7 separate regions of the Homo sapiens genome follow, and all the other regions are linked to region 1. The links are contacts of gene promoters, found by promoter capture Hi-C in blood cells and fetal thymus (Javierre and others, 2016). All regions are on one chromosome and are shown on one strand. The core of a region is centred on a gene start or on the middle of the fragment in contact, and the rest is flanking DNA. Distances in the headings are between cores, read along the strand shown.

The links. Contacts are between HindIII fragments. The CHiCAGO score rates a contact against its expected background, and 5 or more counts as called.
Region 2: a fragment that was not itself captured here is called in contact with the fragment with the promoter of KCTD9 in region 1 in 1 of 17 cell types (total B cells); the score reaches 7.7 in total B cells.
Region 3: a fragment that was not itself captured here is called in contact with the fragment with the promoter of KCTD9 in region 1 in 8 of 17 cell types (total B cells, total CD4 T cells, naive CD4 T cells and 5 more); the score reaches 20.4 in total B cells.
Region 4: a fragment that was not itself captured here is called in contact with the fragment with the promoter of KCTD9 in region 1 in 1 of 17 cell types (neutrophils); the score reaches 8.6 in neutrophils.
Region 5: a contact is called between a fragment that was not itself captured here and the fragment with the promoter of KCTD9 in region 1, in 1 of 17 cell types (total B cells). The highest score is 5.5, in total B cells.
Region 6: a contact is called between a fragment that was not itself captured here and the fragment with the promoter of KCTD9 in region 1, in 1 of 17 cell types (neutrophils). The highest score is 6.0, in neutrophils.
Region 7: a contact is called between a fragment that was not itself captured here and the fragment with the promoter of KCTD9 in region 1, in 1 of 17 cell types (neutrophils). The highest score is 8.0, in neutrophils.

Annotation. Positions count from the first base shown.
Region 1 is chr8:25,457,037-25,460,036 of GRCh38, forward strand. KCTD9 (potassium channel tetramerization domain containing 9) reads right to left here and starts at 1,397. Exons shown (of 12, transcript NM_017634.4): 1 at 1,163-1,397. The coding sequence starts at 1,210. It overlaps CDCA2 (cell division cycle associated 2), which reads left to right and starts at 2,197. Exons shown (of 15, transcript NM_152562.4): 1 at 2,197-2,437. RefSeq lists enhancers at 446-495, 1,866-2,095 and silencers at 1,106-1,155, 1,516-1,725. The HindIII fragment of the contact is 4,823 bases long and covers 1-3,000 here.
Region 2 is chr8:26,638,756-26,642,080 of GRCh38, forward strand. The region is part of intron 8 of DPYSL2 (dihydropyrimidinase like 2); the gene reads left to right. Among named protein-coding and RNA genes, the nearest start is that of DPYSL2, 130 kb to the left of the region's middle. The HindIII fragment of the contact is 2,840 bases long and covers 438-3,277 here.
Region 3 is chr8:26,669,396-26,672,565 of GRCh38, forward strand. No RefSeq gene overlaps it. Among named protein-coding and RNA genes, the nearest start is that of DPYSL2, 160 kb to the left of the region's middle. The HindIII fragment of the contact is 1,155 bases long and covers 1,276-2,430 here.
Region 4 is chr8:27,336,465-27,339,640 of GRCh38, forward strand. All of the region lies in intron 1 of PTK2B (protein tyrosine kinase 2 beta), which reads left to right. Among named protein-coding and RNA genes, the nearest start is that of PTK2B, 13 kb to the left of the region's middle. The HindIII fragment of the contact is 3,040 bases long and covers 86-3,125 here.
Region 5 is chr8:26,623,217-26,626,515 of GRCh38, forward strand. DPYSL2 (dihydropyrimidinase like 2) reads left to right here. Exons shown (of 14, transcript NM_001197293.3): 4 at 927-1,091. Among named protein-coding and RNA genes, the nearest start is that of DPYSL2, 110 kb to the left of the region's middle. The HindIII fragment of the contact is 1,415 bases long and covers 655-2,069 here.
Region 6 is chr8:27,387,332-27,390,689 of GRCh38, forward strand. The region is part of intron 1 of PTK2B (protein tyrosine kinase 2 beta); the gene reads left to right. Among named protein-coding and RNA genes, the nearest start is that of MIR6842, 44 kb to the right of the region's middle. RefSeq lists an enhancer at 359-408. The HindIII fragment of the contact is 3,018 bases long and covers 1-2,786 here.
Region 7 is chr8:23,519,303-23,522,561 of GRCh38, forward strand. No RefSeq gene overlaps it. Among named protein-coding and RNA genes, the nearest start is that of SLC25A37, 8.0 kb to the right of the region's middle. The HindIII fragment of the contact is 9,103 bases long and covers 1-3,259 here.

The sequences.
Region 1 (3,000 bases), core at 147-2,646:
ATGATAACTCAAGAACTCGAATTTATACGAATTCTGATTTTAAATGAGTATTAAATCTCTAAGACCAAAAGAACATAAAATTATAGCCAACAAACCACACTCTGGTTCGAATTTTCGGAGCATGTTTACTCTACACTGAATAATCGGAAAGCCATTTTTAATGCCACTGGACAATTTCACTATTTAAAAATTTACAGTGTTCCCCGAATGTGCAGGCAGCAGAGTATTTTGGCAACCAACACAGCGAGACCCATTTACCTTTACCTTAGACTCGTAAAGGCTGAGTTACTTCTAGGTATCATTTAGCAACGCAATAAATGTCTGCCTCGAACAGTGAAAATTTCCCAAAGGAGCAGAACAACTTTCATGGGTGGGGCAAAAGGCTGGGAAGGAAGAGAATTCGTTTTGGCTTGCTCCAGCGCTGGAAGAACACTGAGCACCACACTCTCCGCAAAGGCCTAACACAGCAAAGGCGACTGTCAAATCGATCCCTTTTGGGTCTGCTGTACCCGTCCTCTAGGGAATCAAAATAAGGCAAAATAATAAAAAGAGTACAGAGAAGTTTGGCGGCGGCGGGGCGTGGGGGCTTGAGGCATCTCAGAGAGGAGGGCAAAAATCAACAAGAAAATGCCCCCATTTTAAAAATCCTGTCTGCGACCTCGGATGGGAGATTTTGTTTATCCACGGGCAGTTTACTTCTGTCTCCCTGACCCATCTCCACAGGCTCTGGTGCTCGCCGCCACTTTCCGAGCAGATCATTACTCAGCACCGGAGCCGGCGCGCCTCCTCCCGCAGGCGGGAGCGGGGTCTCGGGGAGAGGCGGGAAGAGGCGCGACCGCCCGGGCGCCCAGGTGACCGCGGCCCTCCCCGCGCCCCCGTCCCCGCGCCCCCCGCACCAAGCATCCGGGAGACCCGGAGCCCCCGGGCCGAACCGCGCCGGCCCCCAGGCAGCTGAGGCACTGAAGGGCAGGCTCGGGCACGGGGGTCCTGAGGGTCGGGAGGAGGCCGCGGGGACCCTGTGCTGTCCCCGAGCGCCCCCAGCCCGCGCACGCCCACCTCCCAGCCCCTCTACCCAACTTCACCGCTGCCCCGCCAGCCGGTTCCGCACCGTCCGCCCTCGCCCCGACCCCCGGCCCGCCGCGCCCCCTCACGCCCCCGTTACCTTTCCGTTCTTGGGGCTGCCGTTCAGGAACAGGGTCACCCGCCTCATCGCGCTGCCCCCGCTGGGTCCTGAGTGAGCCGCCACCCTCCCACCTGGTCCTCCTCCCACCTTTTTCTCCTCCCGCCCTTCCCCTCCCTCCACCCACTCGGATTCGCCTCCCTTCGCCACCTTCCTGCCCTTGGGGACACACCACACGCACGCACTCTGTCCCACACCCAAGGTTCGGCCGGTCCTCCTTCCCACCCCGCCCCTAGGCTCCTCAGCCTGCCTGGGGCCCTTCCCCCACCTCTCCGAGACTGACACTCTGCCGTACCAACCAACCCGCGTCACCGGACAGAGTCCAGCCAATCAGCACCCAGTATCGGGCGGGCTCTGGCTAACCTAGCCGGGACGGAGGGAGGGAAGAGACGCTGAAGGCTAGTAGACGGGAAGGGGCATCAGCCAATCAGAGAGGCTCCTGGAGCCGGACGGCGGCTTCCAGCGTTACTGAGCAGGCGCACCCTCTAGTTTAGGTAGCGCTTATCTGCATACGAGGGCGGGGTCTGGGGAAAGGAGGTGGAGCGCTGAAAGGGACCCAAGCACCAGTCAGCCCCTCCTCCAGCGTTAGCCCCGCCCACAAGCCGGCCCAGCTAGGAAACGGCTGCGGTAGGGACGGACTGATTGGGTAAGAGCCAGCTCGTCGCTCTGTTAGGATTGGTTGAATGAGTCTTTTCGAAGTTTGCAGCATCCAATAGAAAGGTGGGAGGCGGAGTTAAAGCGCTAAGAGAAGCGTTACTCCGCGAGACTCTCCTGAAAAGTAGTCCCCGAGGTCACAAGGCAGTGGCAGGTGTCTGTAGTCCTCGGGTTGACTGCAGCTCGCGGTGGTCCCTCTCCGAGCCCAGGAAGCCACTCCAGTGCCGAGGGAGAGGCCTGGGAGCGCTCGGAGTGTGCGCGGACTGGAGAAGGGGGAGGTGGCGGAGTGATTCGTAGAGTAAATTCGGTACCGAGGGGCGGGGTCGGGGATTTGAATCGGTCGGCGGGCGGAGGAGGCGGGTGGAGGAGGCTGCCGGGCAGAGCGCAGGCCAGGATCAGCGCAGGCTGTGAGTCCAGGTCAGCCGTCGGGACCTCGGGCTCCGGGTTCGAAGAGCGGCTCCCGGCTGCGGGTGCTTTGCCAGGAGAGCCCTTCCGGACAGAGGAGCCGGGGTCTGGAAGGAGCGGCCGACGCGACGCTCGCCTGCCACGGGGCTCTGGGAGTAAGCCTGTCTGCCTGGCGGGCCTTCAGGTGCGGCGTGAGAGGTAGGATTGCATCCGCGCTGCCACGGGGCTGTTTCTCCGGGGCATTTCTAGGCACTTTGTTCGGCTTACCCTGCAGCACAGAATTAGTACTCCTGTCAGGAGCTGCTCTGGGTGACCAGGAGTGCATCCGGACCTGTTGAGAGAATTTCTGGAAATGGATAGAGCTGCGTCTTGAGAGGGGTACCCTTATGATTCAGGTTTTCGCTACGGTTGAAAAGCCATGGCTTATCCTTTGGGGTCTGCTTTGGTGCCTGAACAGCAGTTTTCTCCATTTCTTTCTGTTTAATTTGGCTTTAAAAGTACGCGCTTAGAGTAAAAGAATGGTTAGCACAGGGTGGGAAGTGTATTGGGGATGGATGGGAAGGAAGTGGAGATGGTTAATAGGTAGAAAAACAAAGAATGAATAAGATCTAGTATTTGCTAGCACAACAGGGTGGCGGTCCATAATTTAATTGTGCATTTAAACATAACGAAGTATAATTGGATTGTTTATAACAAAAAGGATAAATATTTGAGATAATGGCTACCTCATTTACTTTGATTTGATTATTACGAATTGCATG
Region 2 (3,325 bases), core at 608-3,107, 1.2 Mb after region 1:
AGAAATGCAGAAATTGAAAATCTTGCCCTGGTTCATGTAGCCTGTGGGAATTAGAAACCATGATTCCAGGCTCCTGGCCACCTCTCTTTCCATGGAGGGCCCCTTGTGGGGATTTCTTCTCTAGAATGGGCTCCCTCTGACCACATTTTGTCCATGTGTGAAATCCAGCATGACTGCTGATGCCTTCCATGTGTGAGTGGTGGCCGTGGGCAGTGCCTGATGACCTCATCTGATGGACATTCTTTTCCGTCCTCCTCCTCACCCCTCTCCCATAACCCGGGTGCAGAAACATTCAGGACATTAAACCCTGGGAACCTCAATTTGAGATAAGACCTCTTATGTCCTGTGGGTCAATAGGAGTGACTCAAACGTTATGAGAAGCACATGGTCGCAGGGCCTGTGAGGACCACCTCAGCTTGGGGATGAGTCCTTAGTTAAGCTTATGCTTGATGTTGCAATCTTGAACAGAAAAGGGGGATGAGAGAGGAGAGAGGACAGTAGAGAAAGGGGGAAGATTTATTTTAAAGAATTATATTTAAGGAATCAACTCACACGATTGTGGGGATGGCAAGTCTGAAATCTGCAGATCAGGCCACAGACTGGAGAACCAAGGAAGAGCTGATGTTGGCATCGGAGTCCAAAGGCAGAATTCCTTCCCAATCTATGCCCTCACTTTTAACGGCAGATGGTCTGCAAGGTTGGGAATTCAATTTGCATTGTAATTCAGCCACTGCCAGGATGAGATCCTACTTCTGGTTTTCAGCCATCTCAGCTCTGCATCTATGGGACATAAGGGCAGACATAGAAACTTTTGATTCATTCATGTGGTGCTTGAGCTGGGAATTTGAATCCCTGAATTCATTCTTCTTTTTTCCCCCACTTTGTCTAGTACAATTAGGAGCAACCAACCACTCTCGTTATACTTGTTAATTTTACAAAAATGTTTAAGGTATCTGCTACACACCCACCTAGAACCTTGCCTCTTAGAAGCCTTTGGGAGTATTTAATAATATTTTCTGTGTCTCTATTGTCCCATCATGCCCTGTACTCTCCTCTTTTTACTACTGGACGTAGAATCATTAGTGCCTTTCAACCCAATCAGATCTGAGAACGAATTTCAGAAACCTCAGAACCCATTCAGAAAACTCATTTTTAAGATGATGTTCTTCTAGAACCACTCTTGCTACGAAAACCTGACAGCACAGTCCCCAGGCTGTTTGTTAGGGTCTGGCATAAATTCTTGGAAAGGCAAAGGAGAATGGTGAGAGCGTGTGTAACTGTCTGTCTGTCTGTCCATCCCAGTTGGTTTTCACTGTGCTTTGGTGGCTGCATATGGAGCTACAGATACTGATTTCCCACAGTTCCCACTTTGGATTTGTTCTCCTGCTTCTCGTCCATGGGAAATGACTGCCAGAGCTGGGAGCTATCAAGCATATTTAAACCGCAGCCTTCCATTTATTCTTCATGAATGCACACGGGCCCCAGACTGGTTGTAAATAAGCACCAGCTCCCATCCCCTGCAGTTCTTGGCCTTATAGAGAGCCTGCCAGAGGCTGGCTTGGTCACATCCTTCAGTTTAGACTTTACCTGGAGAAGAAAATCACAAAGGTCTAACGGGCACCCAGATAGCATCAGCAGTGTATTTAGAGAAGTGCAGAAGGGCCAATTAAGCCCATTTCGTGGTTTATTATTATTAGTGGTAATTATTTCTGGCATGCAGTTCAAGGGTGTCTGTGGCCTGGCTGAGCTCCGGAAGTGCATCCACAGCACCCTCCTGTGAATGTTTATAGACCCAGGAGGGGAGCCCTGGGTTGGGAGCTCCAGACCACTGGGGATGGGAGGCAGAGACTCTATGTATAGATCATACTCTTGTGGAGGTAGAGGCCTGGAACATGATGGCTAAACTCCTGTCGCTGATTCTGGGCTAAGAAAGAAAGAAAATCCAAAAGACAGCAAGGACCTCTGAATCCCTGAGGGAAGTTGAACAGAGCAAAGTAGAAATGAACCACAGGATGGCTCCATCCCTCCCCTGGCATCCACTGCCCCTGCCCCTGAATGTCCCTATCTTTGCTTAGCTGTGGCCCAGAAGTCCACTCAGCCTTTGTCTAAAGAGGCAGGTTCTGCTCAGCAGTGGCGTTGAGAGCTCAGACCCCATTTTGGGTTTTCTAGAGGCAGAAGGCCAAGTTCATTCTCTTGAAGTGAGGTAGATATTCCTGTGCACAGAGAGAAGGGGAATCCAGCTCCTCATAGAGCAGCTCCCCACCCCAAGCTGAGTTGTGTTTCGCAGGGAGAGATAAGCCTGTGGTCAGCAGCATTCATCCCCATGGTATTCAGGCCACTTTCCAAGAACCAGCCCCTCCTTGTACTTAAGTTTCTAGAGGCAGGGCCGAGGAGCAGGCACAGGGAGAGGATGAGCGTCGGCAAGTTACAGGAAACTCAGGAAAATGTTTATGTGTGTCCAGGGATTTTCAGAGACTATCCAGCCATTCTTTATCTCCAAGTGCCTCTGCTCTCATGAACTTCTTCATGTGGACAAAAGCAGGAAGCCTTTAGGGCCACGCATCTCTTGTTTTCCTGTGACTTACACAGCCCTCACCTTTGTGCTTAGATGGACTGTGGCCAGCGGGACCTCCAGGCCTGGCTGGGTCAGGAGAGTTTTGCTTAACCAGATCTGTTTGATCCTTGAACCAAAAGCGGGGAGCCAGAGAGATCCTTTGAGAACTGATGACTGCTGCTGGGTCCTGCCCAGCCATTTGCATTTTATAAAGGTCTTTGGCAGCGGCCAAGGCCTTCTCATTATGTGGTGTTTTTCCACTTCGGGATGAACCGGAGTGGTTTGTGCAGCCACCTGATAGCTCTTTGCACCAGCTTCTGCATGGGAGACTTTGAGCAGGCCAGGAGCCAAGGGGACCCTCCTAGGCCTTCCGAGCACCTAGCACTGGCCCTTTTCTTCCTTGGGGCTTCCTTCTGGAGGAGGTTTCCCTGGGTTTGGAGTCCTCCCTCCTGCTGGGGGTGGGGGCGTGGTTGCTGGTGGCCTGGAGTGAGCTGCCTGCTGTGGCCTCCAGCACTCCCCAGCTGAACAGCGAGTCCTTTGTGAAATTCCTGAGGCAGGAGGGGGCAGCTGTGCAGAGCCAGCTCTCAGAGTGGCCGACAGGGAGGGTGTTGTGGTGTATCATCAAGTGATAAGGCCTTCGGAAAGGCTGTGGAGAGGAAGGAAAACACATTCCTGACTGTGGTGTGTTTGCCCTTGAGGGCCCTGTGTTTGGGGAAGTAGAGAAGCTTGGCTGCATTGTTGTGGGGTGGGAGTTAGCCCTGTGCTGGGGGG
Region 3 (3,170 bases), core at 603-3,102, 1.2 Mb after region 1:
CATCTTAAAAGGCCTTTCTACAATAGTGATGTTATTTGCAGGAGTAATTGGGGAAGTTACATATCTTATGACCTCTGGAATAGTGACTGGCAATCCTTTATGTCTACACCTTAGCAGAATTCAGGCTCCTCTCTTCCTCCTAGCCCTGTGGTCTCTCATTAGCTTTACATAGGTGGCTGAGTTCTAGGGAAGGGCTATTATCATTTAAACTATAAACTAAATGTCTCCCAAAGTTAGCTTGGCAGCTTGAAGGCCAAAGGCAAGAGGGGGGCTGGCTAGATCAGATTTCCCTCATTGGCACAGTTTTATCACTGATACGATTTTTGCAAAGGCGGTTTCATCTTCAGATTAATTACAAAATTATGTACAAGGTCCAAGTGTCCCCCCACTAGATGATGATCTTAACACTTTCATCTTATGAAAAATGGGGAATAGATTCCCAAAGTGTTGCACTTATCTACGCCAGGCTCCATGGATTCTAGCTGCATTTGAGGGCTCCCTGGCTCATGGCCTCAGCTCCTGACTCAATTGTCCTCAGTGTTTCATTGATAAATTCATAAATTTGAGACTGTCTCAAAAAAATTCTGATAAGTGTTGTGATAAGCTATAAACCATAGATACATAATTAGGAGGATGCAGCTAACTGTGGGGATGAAAAAGACTTCCCAAAGAGTTCTCAAGCCTTCGTGAAATTGAATAAAGACAAAAACAGGGAAGTCTGAAACTGCAGCACGATGACCCACAGGCCCGTTCCATATGTGTCTTGGGCCTAGTTCATCTCCAAGGGCACTGATCTGGTCCTTGAACGTCAGCTTTTTATGTAAACTGTTTGAGGACCAAGGTGTGTGTGGACCTGCTGTTCATTCCCTGATGAGCTGATAGTGATAGTGCGTTCTATCAGTTTTTAGTGGCTTATTTGCACATCTGATCTTATTGAAATGTTATAAAGTTCATGGAGGGCTACTCCATTGGGATTATTATTGCTCTTTCTCTCCCTCATTCCTTGTTCTCCATCTTCCCCTCCACGCCCCACCCTGCCATGAGGGTTCCAGCCATTCCCAAATGAGTATTCTGTCCTTCAGGTCCTTATTTAGAAAAACAGTCATTGGCCTGGTTGCCTTTCAATATTTAATTCTACTTTCATAAGTGGAAATAAAGCCTGCTCTTGCCCCTTTCCTCCTAGATGACAGTAGTTAGGATAATATGGTGACCTAATTAATGGTAGTCTTGGTTGACAAAGTATTTGTCAGGTAATTTGGAATGACAGCTGTGGAAAGCTTACCTCTGGCGGCTTAGCTTAGTTTGTCCAGTAGGTGGCAGTAGTGTACAAGCTGTGCGAGAGCAAGTTCTCAAGAAGACAAAATGCAACTTCCGTTCCTAAGCAAGAAAAGGACAGAATGCAGTATCTGTTCCTAAGCAAGCACCCAGCCAGCTGTATCTGGATGTGGACCTGCATTCGGTCCATGAGGAGACCAACAGGTGACTCTGAGTTTAGAAAGCTACGTATTAAACATAATGGTGTGTAGATTTAGCAAGAGACACTAAAAAAGTTGATTATTAGGGGCCAAAATCTCAGATCCCCTTATTAAGTAAATTGGTTTTCCTGATAGAGGCGCCCTGTGTTCAGATAGCGTTTGTGTGGCAGAGCTGACTGCAAGGAGACAAAGGCTTGCTGGGGCTTTCATAGGATGGTACTGTGCTGGAGTGGGCTATGTACACTACGATCACGCCGAGGCTGCAGGGAGCGAGCTTGCAGGTGTCTGGTGGTATAAGTCGGGCGCAGGAAGATTGTGAGTTATTTACACAGGAGGGCTGTGTGTCCTGGACCATGAAGAAAGGCAGACTTGTAGCTTGTTTGCTTCTTTTTGCTTTCCCCTGCTCCCACCAGCCTGACTTTTTCCCTAATGAGGACTTCACAGTTTGCAGCGTTGTCAAATTAGCTAACCAGATGCAATAGGAGTCAGGCTTTCATTCCCTCTTGCAGCCTGTTTCGGTGCTTCATGTTAAAATCCTGTAGTTACTCTCTCTCTCTTTCTTTCTCTCCCTTTCTCTCTCTCTCTGTCAACAGAGGCACTGTAAATTACCAGTGACTGGTCAAATTTGTGACCATTCTTTATCTCCTTCCCTCCTGTCCCTGAATTTGGCTCTCGTACCCAAGCCTGGCTTTCGTATCACACTGGATGTATGGGGAATGAGGCTCAGCACTGTCACTGCATTTGTGTTATTTCATCTGATCAGTGTTGTGATGAACTATAAACCACAAGGACTCAAGGGATCCCCCTGCCTCAGCCTCCTGAGTAGCTGGGATTACAGGTATTATGATACCCGAAATAGGTAATATATTAGCTGCCTATATACTATTCATGCTGATTCATTTATCTGTACTAATTAAGACTTAGCACCTTAGGTGAATGGAACATAGACCAAACAAGCTTTTTAAAATAACGATTTAAAACAAAAGAAAAGTAATGTATGTTAAATGTAAGAACATATTTAAAAAGTAAAGTATCAGCATAATATTGGCTTCCTATAATGATTTGGGATGTGTTCTTTCTTTTTTAATTTAATGCAAGAATGTATTCAATGTATTATTTCCTCCTTAACTGCTTGACTGGTTGAATTGACCATTGAAACCATTTGGACCTAGAGTTCTCTCTGTGGGAATGTTTTTAAACTACAAATTCAATTTCTTTAATAGGCATAGGGCTATTTAGTTTATCTGTTTCTTCTTGAGTAAGCTTTGGTAGTTTGTGTCTTCCATGGAATTTGTCCATTTCGTCTGAGTTGTTGAATTTATTGGCATAGAATTGTTAATCATATTTCCTTATTATCTTCTTAATATTAATAGAATTTTCAGTGATGTCATCCTCTCTTTCCCAATGTTAGTAATTTGCATCATCTCCCTTTTTCTCCTTATCACAATGGTTAGTTTATCAATTTCATTGATCTGAAAAAACTAGCTAATAGTTTAGTTGATTTTCTCTATTGTTTTACTGTTTTGCATTTAATTGATACTTCACTCTGATTTTCATAATTTCTTTTCTTCTATTTAGGACGAATTTAATTTGCTCTCCTTTTTCTAGTTTTCTGAAGTGGAATCTGATGTATTTTTTCTTTTCCAATGAAGGCATTTAGTGCTATAAGTTTCACTGAAGTTACCGTATTCATTT
Region 4 (3,176 bases), core at 356-2,855, 1.9 Mb after region 1:
GCTGGCATTGAGTACGTACAATGTGTGCCTGATATAAGGCAGCTCTGTTCTCCCAATAAGGAGGGCTGCTAAAAAAAAATTAAAAAGCTTATTTTCATATGTAAACTTTGTAGGATAATGTTGAATAGATTATTTTAGCGATACATTTTCAATCACATGCTAATAACAATACATTAACTTAAATACTGCTTTCCCCCAACTCTCCCAGTTTAGGAAACATTGTAACTGTTCACTCCCATCTCTGACATCAGTGTCCTTCTTGTCACCAGAACCCTTTCTGCATCAGCTCTTCATGTTCTGTGGGCATCATAGTCCCTGTGGTCTAAAGAGAGTTAGCTGTTTCAAATTGATCCAAAAGGAGTTTATTTACTTATTTATTTTTTATTTTTGAGACGGAGTCTCTCTCTGTCACCCAGGCTGGAGTGCAGTGGCACAATCTCGGCTCACTGCACCCTCTGCCTTCTGGATTCAAGCGATTCTCCTGCCTCAGCCCCACGTCCCCACCACCCGTCCCCCCTCCCCCCGCCACTGCCAGTTTTTTAATAACCGCTAATTAATACTTATTGATGAATAGTAGTTTTTTGAGATACAATTCACATACCGTAAAATTCACCTTTTAAAAATGTGCAATTCAATGAGTTTTAGTACGTTCACAGAGTTGTGCAACCATCACCGCTTTTTTTCTTTTTTTGACAAGAGTCTTGTTCTGTTGCCCAGGCTGGAGTGAATGGCATGGTATCAGCTCACTGCAACCTCTCCCTCCTGGGTTCAAGTGATTCTCCTGCCTCAGCCTCCCAAGTAGCTGGAATTACAGGCACCTGCCATCATGCCTGGCTAGTTTTTGTATTTTTTAGTAGAGATGGGGTTTCACCATGTCGGCCAGGCTAGTCTTGAACTCCTAGCTCAAGTGATCCACCCGCGTTGGCCTCCTAAAGTACTGAGATTACAGGCGTGAGCTACTGCGCCTGGCCCTCCATCACTGCTATCTAATTGCAGAATATTCTCGTCACTCCAAAAAGAAACCCCCGTACCATAAGCAGTCACACCGTGTTCTCCACTCCCCCGTCCCCTGGCAAGACTAATCTACTTTCTATTTTTATGGATCTGCCTTTTCTGGTCATTCCATATAAGTGGAATTGTACAACACTGTGGCCTTTCGCGACGGCTGCTTTCACTTAGCACAATGTTTTGAAACTTCCTCCATGTTGTAACATCTATTAGTACTTCGTTTCGTTTTGATTGATATTTATTGATGAGTAACATTTTGTTGTGTGGATATGCCATATTTTGTTTATCTCTTCATTAGTAAACATTTGGATTGTTTCCACTTTTTGACCATTGTAAGTACTGCTGCTATAAACATTCACATACAAGTTTTTTTGTGGACATATGTTTTCATTTCTCTGAGCTATAGACTTAAGAGTGGAGTTGCCGGGTCCTGTGATAACTCTGTTTAACATTTTGAGGAACTGTTGAATGGTTTTTCACAGCAGCTGCCTCATTTTTTATTCCCATCAGCAGTACTTCTTGGTTCTAATACCTCCACGTTCTCGCCAACACTTGTTGTTGTCTGTAATTTCGTTGTTAGCCATCCCAGTGGGGATGAAGTAGTATCTTACTGTGGTTTTCAGTTGCGTTTCCCTGATAATTAATGATGGTGAACATCTTTTCATGTTCTTGTTGGCCATTTGTATGTCTTCTTGGGAAAAAAAATGTCTGTTCAAATCCTTTACAAAGTATTTATTTTTTATGTCAACAATATAACCACTCAGTACACTGCTTTTTAGACAATGATCTTTTAAAGGTTTGTTTACAACATTTAGCACTTGAAATTTTAAGGTTATGCCCTCAAAAAAATTGCTGAGGGAGCTAAGCTATGAAGATGCAAAGGCATAAGAATTATACAATGGACTTTGGGGGAATCGAGGGAAAGGGTGGGAGGGGGGTGAGGGATAAAAGACAAATTGGATGCAATATATACTGCTCCAGTGGTGTGAGTCCATCAAAATCTCAGAAATGACCACTAAAGAACTTATTTATGTAACCAAACACCACCTGTTCCCCAAAAACCTATGGAAAGAAAGAAAGAAAAAATTTTAAAAAGAAAAATTGCTGAATCTATATTATAGTATGGTGGTTGCTTTTCATAAAAACCAATTCTTTTAAGTAACCTTTGTAAGCATCCCAAACTAGCCTTGATTGATTGGAGTGCTAATACTTTTCCCAAACAGTATATTGTTGTTCAAAATAAGATAATTGAGAAAGCAACCCATAACATGAAAGATTCTGTAAGGGCTTGGATATAAACTTTCTCCTTTCTGACAGATAATTTGGGAAGGTAGAGAGCTTTACCTCCTATTCAAGCAAATGTGATATTTAAAAATAAGTAGATGGATGAATGGACAATGGACTCATGAATGAATGAACAAAAGAAGAAATGCAAGCAAGTAAACCAATCAAGCAACCACACCAATCTTTCCCTCTTTATTTAGGATTTTCTAATCCCCACTTAGTAAATCAGCCTTGGTCTTTAATTTACATTTTATGGAACCATATATAAAATTGTTTAAAAAACAAGTTTACAGTTACAGATTAGAAACAAGACACTGTATTTTCTGTCGCCTGGAATATCTTTATCATCTTCCTTTAAAAATGGGAAGAAACTAAGGCTGCGCAGGGTCCTGGAGGCAGTTGAGAGACTCAGACATCAAGTGATGTGATTGCAGGCCTTGGTCCAGAGTTGTAAGTCACCAGAGTGGGACCTTTAGGCTTGTGACATGATAACAAGGATTTTCTTGGGTGGGCCCCCCAGCTCTTCATTGCTCTTTCCATCAGCACAAAGGCTTCTGGGTTGCTGATGTTTTGTGTGGTGGCCCTGGAGGTCTCTCCTTCTACCTTCTCTGGGGTGAGACAGTCTGATCCATCTCAGAGGCCACACTCACCACCTACTGCACAGAGACACAGCCCCCTCCCCATCCTTTACCATTGGTCCTTTCTTAAGAAAATGTGTCAGCTGGCAAATGGTACTCTGGAGTTTGGGGTAAGAGAGAGAAAGAGGAAGAATACTGGGCAAGAAGGTAAGAAAGGAAGCTGTGGCCTGACATGGGCACAGAGACATGGGCGAAAGCTTGAGAGATGACCTTTAAAGGCTCAGACCCCGGAAAGGGAAGAAGTTG
Region 5 (3,299 bases), core at 112-2,611, 1.2 Mb after region 1:
ACAAGGGAGAGGTGGTCCAGGGTCATGTTATAGAGGTAGGCCAGGGCCACACTGGTTGGGGTTTTGCAAACCTTACTGGGGACTTGAATCTTTATCTGAAGAGCAGGGGGAAGTCATTGGAGGATTTAAATCAGGGAATGACATAAGATTGATGGATATGCTATCTCCTTTAATCCTCATAACAAATGTATGTGCTAGGTAATATCCCCGTTTTAAAGCAGCACAGAAATTAGGGCAGTGGAGATTAAGGAGTTTACCCCAGGACACCATGCAGGTGAATGATGGAGCCAGGAAACCAACTCGGGTCAGCTTGCATCCAAAGTCCTCAGTCTTCCAGATCAGCGTACCTCCATAGTAATATAACAATGACTGCAGTTTTAAAACACTTTGAACTCTTAAGATGAAAGATTTCCCTTAAATTACAAAGTGGTATTATGCTGCAGAAATGTGAGCGGTAATGAGAGAGCAGGTAATGCCCGGGAACTTTTGAAAGGCCCGGTCCGTGTGGCTCTGCTCCAGCACCTTCAAGTTCCCTGCCGTCTGGCGGGGGGCGTCTCATAAGCTGCTTTCAACACAAAGAAGGGTTTGGCTGCTCCCCGGCCATTTGACACTGCCATTGTCCATAAGGACTCGTTGTCCGTGAAATGCACCCAAAGCTTGAGCTTTCAGGGGTTTTGGGAAATCAGATCTGGGCAGTGCATGTGTGGTTTCGCTGGAGACATCATCCAATGCCAAGTTTCTGCTTTCTGCTTTCTCCCTCTTGGATAATCAGCTGGGTTACATGGATTCTTAGAAGCTGGTTGTAGAGATCACCATCTCGATTTTGAACCCAAGAAGCCTTATTCAGGGTTCAAGTGGGAAAATACCTGCTGGCCCACGGCCCTTGAGGCTCTTGGTGATGATGACATATGTCTGTTTCTTTCTAGTTGACCACGTTGTTCCTGAGCCTGGGACAAGCCTGCTCGCTGCCTTTGACCAGTGGAGGGAATGGGCCGACAGCAAGTCCTGCTGTGACTACTCTCTGCATGTGGACATCAGTGAGTGGCATAAGGGCATCCAGGAGGAGATGGAAGCGCTTGTGAAGGATCACGGTAGGTTGCACTGAGTCAATGCCCTCTGCAGATGTTTCCGCTTCAGTCCATCAACTGGCACAGCCCTGGGAAGAAAGTGATAATGCTTCCAGATCCCATTTGTGCCTCATGCCCATGCCTGCCCCTGGGAAGGAGAGAGGGCTTTGGGCCGCAGCTTATGCTGTTTGGAGGTGGCCTTACCCAGTGCAGTAACATGAGCCTTCATTGATGATAAGAGAAGATGAGGCTTACTGCTGGGACCTGTTCTTAGGTGACAGCTGCTCACAGCTTATTGGTTTGTGAGCACCGTGCTCTCTAGCCAGGGTGGGGAGTTGAGGCTGCTGAGAGAGAGATTTACCCTCAAAAGATAACAAATACATATCTCAGTGAGGATTTGACAGTCTCAGGAGAGTGTTGGGCAGCCCCTTCCTACAAACCTGGATGGATCTAGGATAGATTTGAGGGCTATGAGACACTTCAAAACTGAGTGACAACCTGAGAGGGCTTTTCCTTTCCCTAGAATTATTTTGGAGAACAAATTTCCAGGGATTGGGAAGATTCACAGAGAGGCAGGAGGAATCTTTACCACCTCAAGGTGCCTCTGGGACTCTTGTCAACAAGAACCTCGGGGGTTTGCGGGGAAGAGCCAGGCCACATCATCTTCCTGGGTCTCGCTGGGCTTGGCTAGAGACCAGATTAACTTCACTGGATCTTAGTGTTCAGGGAAACACCTATTGCTTTAGGGTTCTGGGGACTTCCAGGCTTAGAAACACCATGTGCTGTGAGTGACATGGCAAGAGGGAAATCTCTAGGTACTAGAATGATAGAAAATGCCCCGGAATGAAAAGCAAGAGTCTTGGGTTTATTTCTCTGATCTTCCACAGACTAACTGTGTGACCCTGGGTAATTTGCTGAAATTTTATGGGTCTCAGTTTTTTAAACATTTCTCATATATGAGGGTCTTGGACTAGATGTCCTCTAAGATTCTTTCCAGCACAAAGCTTCCACATAAAAGAAAATAGGTAAACTTTGACTTTTCTCACTTTTGATCATGCGGAGACTCCAAGTGGTTTAACTGTGGATACTTAGACTGAATCTGCTCCAAACCAGGCAGGAGGGTTACCATGGTAACTGTTGCCTGGCAACGGGAGAAGGGCCAGGATGTCCAGAGGCATTTAACTCAGGCAGCTCCCAGCACCCCCCAGGTGGCTTGAATTAAACTCCAAGGCTGCGAGGTTGTCAGGACAATTGTTTAAAATTGTGATGAATGTTGGGCAGGGATGTTTGGTCTGGTGCCTAGGGAGGCAAGAACTCCAAGACGCCAGGATGAGAATTGCGACATCTGCTTGTTGAACTAATGGACCTTTTCTTACTTAAAAAATCATTTGCTTAAAAATCAGCATGGAAGGCAGTCTGTCTGCCAAAGAAAAGACATTTATCACAGTTCTTCATAGGCAGAAACTTCTAATTCATTTTCTTGTTACAGTCGCAACAGACTTGTTTGGTAGAGGCAGCTTAAAAAATTAACTGTGGTAAAATAAATATAACATTCAAGTTACCATCTTAACCATTTTTAAGTGTGTGTGCAGTTCATTGTTTTAAAATACACTCATAATGTTGTTGCAACCATCACCACCCTCCATCCACAGGTCTCTTTATCTTGCAAAACTAAAACGCTACACTCACTCATTAAACACTAACTCTCCACTGTCCTTCACCCCAGTCCCTGGCAACTGCTGTTGTACTTTCTGTCTGTGAAATTGACTTCTAGGGACCTCATACAAGTGGAATCATATAGTATTTGTCCTTTTGCAACTGGCTTATTTCATTTACCATGATGTCCTTAAGGTTTCTCCATGTTGTAGCATGTGTCAGGGTGTCTTTCCTTTTTAAAGGCTGAATAATATTCCATTGTATGGATAGACCACATTTGGTTTATTCATTTATCAGTTAATGGAGGCTTGATTTTTGCTTCCACCTTTTGGCTATTGTGAATAATTCTGCTATGAACATGGATGTGCAAACACTGGCAACTTTTAATTTTGATATACTTGTAAACTTACAGGAAGATTATAAGAATACTAAAAAGCATCCTTGTGCCTCTTCCTCCCACATTCACAGGTTATTTATATGGTACTCTGCTTCCTTTACCATTCTGTGTCTCCATTTCTCTCCTCTCTCTTTCTCTGTACTGAAACACACACACACACACACACACACACACACACA
Region 6 (3,358 bases), core at 28-2,527, 1.9 Mb after region 1:
GCAAGGGTGCAAATGCTATGAAGGGAGATTCAGCATGTGATATGCAAATGTGAAGCTCCTCTTCCTCTAGCTGTTACATTTCTTCTTAACGTTGATTTGGATGAAGGAGTCAGATCCATCTTTCACGGGACAGTCCTACAACCGTTCAAAACCAGCAATCCATCCTGCGTTCCCATGACTCACTCTCTCTTTGGTTTTAGGGGTCTGCACCATGTGATAGGGCCTTGTTGAATGCCCTTGCCCTAGAAGACGGCCTCTCAAACCCCAGGCCCTCAGCTTTCACTGCTGAGGTGGGATCGTGTGTGCAGAGCCCAGAGGGAAATCACCATAGTTTCTTAGGGGTTTTCTGGTAATCCCAACACTACATTAACTTTTTTTGGCAGCCACATCATAGTGACTAACAGTGAATTTACAGTTAGCCTAAATCCTATTTTTTAATCCATCCACTGCTAAACCACATCTTTCTCATCCTAGACTGGGGAAGGCTTTTTTTTTTTTTTTAAATCTACATGAAGAATGGCTCATTTATCCCACTTCACAAGTTGCGTTTTGTTAAACTTGGCATGACTTACCAGCCTGTGAGGATTTCAAGAACTTTTTTTGATCCTCTGTTAAAGCCATAATCTCTCCCAATCCTGTGCTCAACTTGATGCTTCTTGTTTAATAACCACAAGCTCCTTCATACCCAATTAAAAGGCGTGAACAGGAACAATTAAAACAACAGTCTGCCATCCAGGTTAATGCAGACATTTGATTAGCAGTCTTTAGAAGAAACCATTTGACCAACTAGGAATTCACCTGCTATCATCTGACCTCCTTGTTAAACTCTCAAGAAAATGGGGAAGAACTCAGACAAATTGAAGCATTGATTCATCATGGTACCAAATTTCTCCGCTCAGCAACCAACTTTGTGACCCACTCAGAGGGGGACATGAGATTTGCAGGAGTTGGAGGTTGAGAGGGAAGGAAAAAGCTGAGATCATGATTTGAAGAGGAGAAGTTGGAGGATAACTTGGTTTGGGGTTAAAGATGACAAAGAGTGTGGTTTTGAAAATAACAACTTTCAGAGGACTGGAGAGTAAGAGAAAAGAAGCTCTTGGGAGGAAGGGGCACATGGTAAGATGCTATGCCCCCATGCACCTTGTACATTGTTGTCTTGAAGTACTGGGTGGTGCCACCACTACAGGCAACAAGTGGGACATCAACTGTCAGAGGTGGCTTGAGGCCAGGGACCCTGAGATCTGCCCTTTTTGCCCAGTCTGTCGCTGTTCAGACAGTGGTGTGCTGGAACCAACTCTCACAAGCCAATGGTGTCCATTTCTCCCCAACTCCCCTTTCAGTGCCATCATGCTGGTGGCTTGGAATCAGCCACAATGAAAGTATTTACACCAGAGAAATTGGCAAGTGCTACAAATCAAGGCATCCTTCTCTCAGATTGCCAGTGGCCACACACACACCAGGCACTTATTCTCGCTGCCCCTGTGGCCTTCCAGCTCACACCTGTGCTGTATCCTTGTGCCAGATTTATATTTTTAAAATGAAAATCTGCTTTTCCATGGATGATGTTCAAAAATTTCTTAGCAGATTGCCACCTTCTGGTCTCATTTCCCAATGACCCCTCACCCACCCTCTTCACCAGCCCTACAGGCAGCATGTCATGGGGTTTCCTGATCTTTCTGGGTCACTTTTTCCTAAGATCCTGAGGCCCAGTAGGCAGGTTCTCTTCTGTGATCATCTGGTCCCATGCTTAGAGTTCTATTAGAGACCGTAGCAGGCTGTGGCTGTTTTTGTGTGTTTTGTTCCGTTTTATCTTTTTTCTTTTTACTGGATTATGATCTAATAGATGGGGACCTTCTTCCCTCTTCTGTTTATCTTCATAGCTCCAGGTCTGCTATGGTTCCTGAAACATAGGAAGGCAGAGAGAGGAGGGAAGGAAGGAAAGAAGAAAGGAGGGAGGGAGGGAAGGAAGGAAAGAAGGAAGGAAGACAGGAGGGAAGACAGGAAGACACTCCAGCCAAAAGGCATTCATGACCTGGCAAGTAAGGAGCACAATGAGTATAATTTTTGAAGAACTAAGAGAAGAATGGAGCCCAGAAGTCAAATAGGAGATAAGAAAAATCTGGCTAGCTGCAGGGATCAAAGGCTTTGAGGGGAGGAGAGGTTCCTTTAGCAAGAAAGCCCAGGGTAATGCATCCCTGTTGCTCCCCTCCTGCCCCGCAAGACCCCCCCAAGCCAGCTGGCCTCTGAGCTGGCAGGAGCTGGCAACAGGGGGACTCCCAGTGGGTAATGGGTGCGGGGGTGGGGAGCTGAAAACGTGGTAAAGTCTCAACAAATGCGTTTTGTATTACATTCAATTATAGCTGGCAATAATCACAACCTTTCTGGTTCTTTCCTCCGCAAGGTAATGGGGAGAAAGCCTTGGAGAGGAGGGAGGTGATTTAGCAAATGCTGGACTGGAGGGCCCTGGAGCAGGCAGAATGCTGGCCCTGCGGGAACTGAGGGCTGAGAGGGCTCTGGTTGGGGAGGGGGCACTGTGAGGAGCCAGCAGGGCACAGCCTTGCCCAGAAACCTAGGACCAGCTCCCTGAGACTGCAGGGTCATTGCCAATTAGTTAAGTGGCTGCACTCAGCAGGCCTTTGGGATAGGAAAGGGCTGCGTTCTCCATCTTGTTGATGTGGAAACAGCAAGGGGAAGTGATTCAGAGGCGGAGTGGAAATAAAGTGTGTGTCTCGTGACATTGTGACTTCTGCTAGATCCAAAGGGCTGCACTTGACTGTCTCCTGGGAAGCTTCCTTCCATGGACAGGCGCCTGTGGTGCTTTCGAGACAGGCAATGGGGCTGTGCAGGAGCAGAGGAGAGGGAGGCATGATCTGTGGAGGTGGGGCAGGTGCATGGAGGAAGGCAGGGCTGGGTGAAAAGGCAGCCTCAGTGCACGGAGCACTGGAGGTAGAAGGGGCTGCCACAGCCACCTGATCCTGCACTTAGGAGGTCAGTTTAGATTTTTTAAAAGTCAGGTTTAAAGGCCAGGCATGGTGGCTCATACCTGTAATCCCAGCACTTTGGGAGGTTGAGGAGGAAGGATCACTTGAGGCCGGGAGTTCAAGACCAGCCTGGGCAACATAGAGAAACCCTATCTCTATACAAAATAAAAATAAAAAATTGAACTAGGCATGGTGGCATGTACCTGTAGTCCCAGCTACTTGGGAGGCCAAGGCAAGAGGATCACCTGAGTCCAGGAGTTTGAGGCTGTAGTAAGATATGATCACATCCCTGAACTCCAGCCTGAACAACAGAGCAAGCCCCTATCTCTAAAAATTAATAATAATTAAAATTAAATTTCAGAATTAAAAAGTGGGTC
Region 7 (3,259 bases), core at 154-2,653, 1.9 Mb before region 1:
AAAGGTGCCATCCAGCCCATTCTCGCACAGCCACATTGGGAGTCTCAGATACTGGGGCTCCATCTACCAACACAGTAGCTGAAGTGTTCAGCCTGGGAGCCTGAGAGGAGAGGGAAGATCTGGCTGCTCTCTGAGGCCACTCCCAGGGTTCCTCTCTGCTACCCAATGTTTCTGAAGGCCTGTCTCCACAGGCCACCAAGTGGAGATCCTTGGTTAACCCTTCTCTCCCACCTGAGAGACTCTCGGTGCTAACTTTGCCCCCCCCCGCTTTGGTAGGTGGCAACCTGGCACCCTTTGCACATCTTTCTCCTGCAAATTCACAATCACTCTGCAATTGCCCCCCAACAGCAGCTGAAACAGAGGTCCAGACTTGAGAAACACATATGACTAAAGTCAGGAGAGACCAGCAAGGCATAATTAGATGCTGTGGACAGAGAAAACACGTGGAACGCAAATGGAAAACCACAGTGGTTGGTGCTTCTAACTGCAAACGAGCTGCTTCTCCCAAGGGCAACTCTTGGAAGCAGTGGGTTTTACTCAGTCCTGATCTGTCTCCAAAGCACATGCTTGTTATTTTTATGCGACATCATCTCCATCCTCCTACAGAGGGGCATCTTCTCTGCTCAGTAGTCTATTTGAGGCAGGGAAATACAGAGACTTTGCTACCTGAAGGATCGTGGTCAGTGAACTCTCTTATTCACTGTGCATAGAGCTCAGTACAAAACTGTGCAAATGTGGCCATGTGCTAATGTGCTGTGTCAGGTGAACCTGACCAGAGTGGAGAATTGATGACTATTGATTTTTACAGAGCAGGCATCTGAGATATGACAAATGATAGCAATAAAGGAGTTTTATCAGGCTCTGAGTTTATTTCAAAGGTGAGTAAGTGAACGGGTATTGAATGACACACCTGGGGTTTTATCCCAGCTCTGCCACCAACCACTTTTGTGTCCTTGGACACGTTACTTTACCTTGGATCTCTTTTGTCCACCTGTAAGAAAGGACTTATAGACTATATCATACTCTAGTTCTCTTCCAGGTCCCCAGCTTAGTAACTCCATGTTGTCCTAAGAAAGGTAGTCCCCTGGCCGGGCGCGGTGGCTCACGCCTGTAATCCCAGCACTTTGGGAGGCTGAGGCAGGTGGATCATCTGAGGTCAGGAGTTTGAGACCAGCTTGGCCAACTTGGTGAAACCCCACCTGTACTAAAAATACAAAAATTAGCCAGATATGGTGATGCGTGCCTGTAATCCCAGCTACTCGGGAGGCTGGGGTGGAGAATCACTTGAACCTGGGAGGCGAAGTTTGCAGTAAGCCGAGATCACACCATTGCACTCCAGCCTGAGTGACAGAGCAAGACTCCATCTCAAAAAAAAAAAAAAAAAAAAAAAAAAAAAAAGAAAAGAAAAGAAAAGAAAGGTAGCTCTCTAATTTAGTGTTTGTGACATATACTTTGGAAGAAAAAAAAAGTCACCTTTTTCTCTCTTCTACACAACCTGTGCTCAGAATCTCCAGCTCTGAGGTGCAACATGTTCTTTAACTCCCTGGGAATCATGGACGTCTGCAATATTTCATGCTGTTATATAGGAAGATGAAGCTCTTTTCCAAAGAAATTCTGACTCATTTAATAATATGTACTGTTTATTCATTGTGTGTATTCAAGGAACTTAGAGTGTAATGGGAGGGCTAAGACATGGCTTCCAGAGCTGCAATATAAAGTGCAAGGTTCTAAGTAAGAGCTGTGGAAGAGGCAGGGAAGAGCTCCAGGGTTCCTCCTACTTTTTAGGGGTCAGAGAAGACTTCATGGAAGGTGAGGTGTCTGAGTTGAGAAATGAATGTTGAGCATCATTTCAACAGTGGAGATGTGGAGAGTCTTCCCTTCCAAGAGGATATAAGAAGAGACAAGGGCCATAGGTTGAGGGACATGGTTTTGGGGGTGACAAGCAAGGTCTGGCTATAATTAGGTGACTCTATGTCCTGGTTTTCCCAGGATAGTCTCAGCTTATACCCTCTGTCCTGGTGGAATTGTTAACAGTGACCCTTTCCATTCTCAAAAAGTGTCCCAGTTTGGATGATAAATTACAGAGTCACTATAGCTATAGATGATGCTATCTCAGAGGCTGGATCCAGATGTGGCTAATAGGATCTAAGAGTCAAAAAAAGAGAGAGATGACTCTATGCTTGGCTGCAGGTTGGTAAAAAGGAGGTAAATGCAAGGGGAAAAAATGGCATTAGAAAGAGTTGGTGGCCAGGCGCAGTGGTTCACGCCTGTAATCCCAGGCGGACCACTCGAGGTCAGGAGTTTGAGACCCGCCTGGCCAATATGGTGAAACCCCCATCTCTACTAAAAATACAAAAACTAGGCCAGGTGCGGTGGCTCACGCCTGTAATCTCAGCACTTGGGGAGGCCGAGGCAGGTGGATCACCTGAGATCAGGAGTTTGAGACCAGCCTGGCCAACATGGTGAAACCCCATCTCTACCAAAATACAAAATTTAGCCGGGCGTGGTGGCGGGCGCCTGTAATCCTAGCTCCTCGGGAGGCTGAGGCATGAGAATCGCTTGAACCCGGGAGGCAGAGGTTGCAGTGAGCCGAGATCATGCCGCTGCACTCCAGCCTGGGTGACAGAGTGAGACTTTGTGTCAAACCCGTCCCCCCGCAAAAAAAAAAACACGAAAAAAACCCCAAAATTAGCCGGGAGTGGTGGCGGGTGCCTGTAATCCCAGCTACTCGAGAGGCTGAGGCAGGATAATTGCTGGAACCTGGGAGGCGGAGATTACAGTGAGCTGAGATCACCCCACTGTGCTGGGTAACAGAGTGAGACTCCGTGTTAATAAAAAAGAAAAAAAGAAGGAGTTGGTGATTGTGAAGAAAGATTAGAAGGACAGAGCTGGAGGGGTCTGCATACCAGTGAGTCCAATCCAGATAATCATTTCACAGATGAAGGAACGAGAAAAAGGAATGTTAGGACAGGAACGCAGGCCTCTTGGTGCTCTTGCCTCACTGGACTGAGTTGAATAGTGTCTGTCCCTCCCACCCAATTCATGTACACCCAGAACCTGTGAATGTGACCTTACTTATAAATACAGTCTTTGCAGATGTAATCAATTTAAGACAAGGTCATACTGGATTAGGATGGGCCCTGAATCCAATATGACAGGTATCTTTATAAGAAGAGAGGAGTTGGACAGGCACAGAGACACACAGGGAGGGTGCCACATGGCAACAGAGCAGGGGTCAGAGTGATGCGTCTACAAGCCA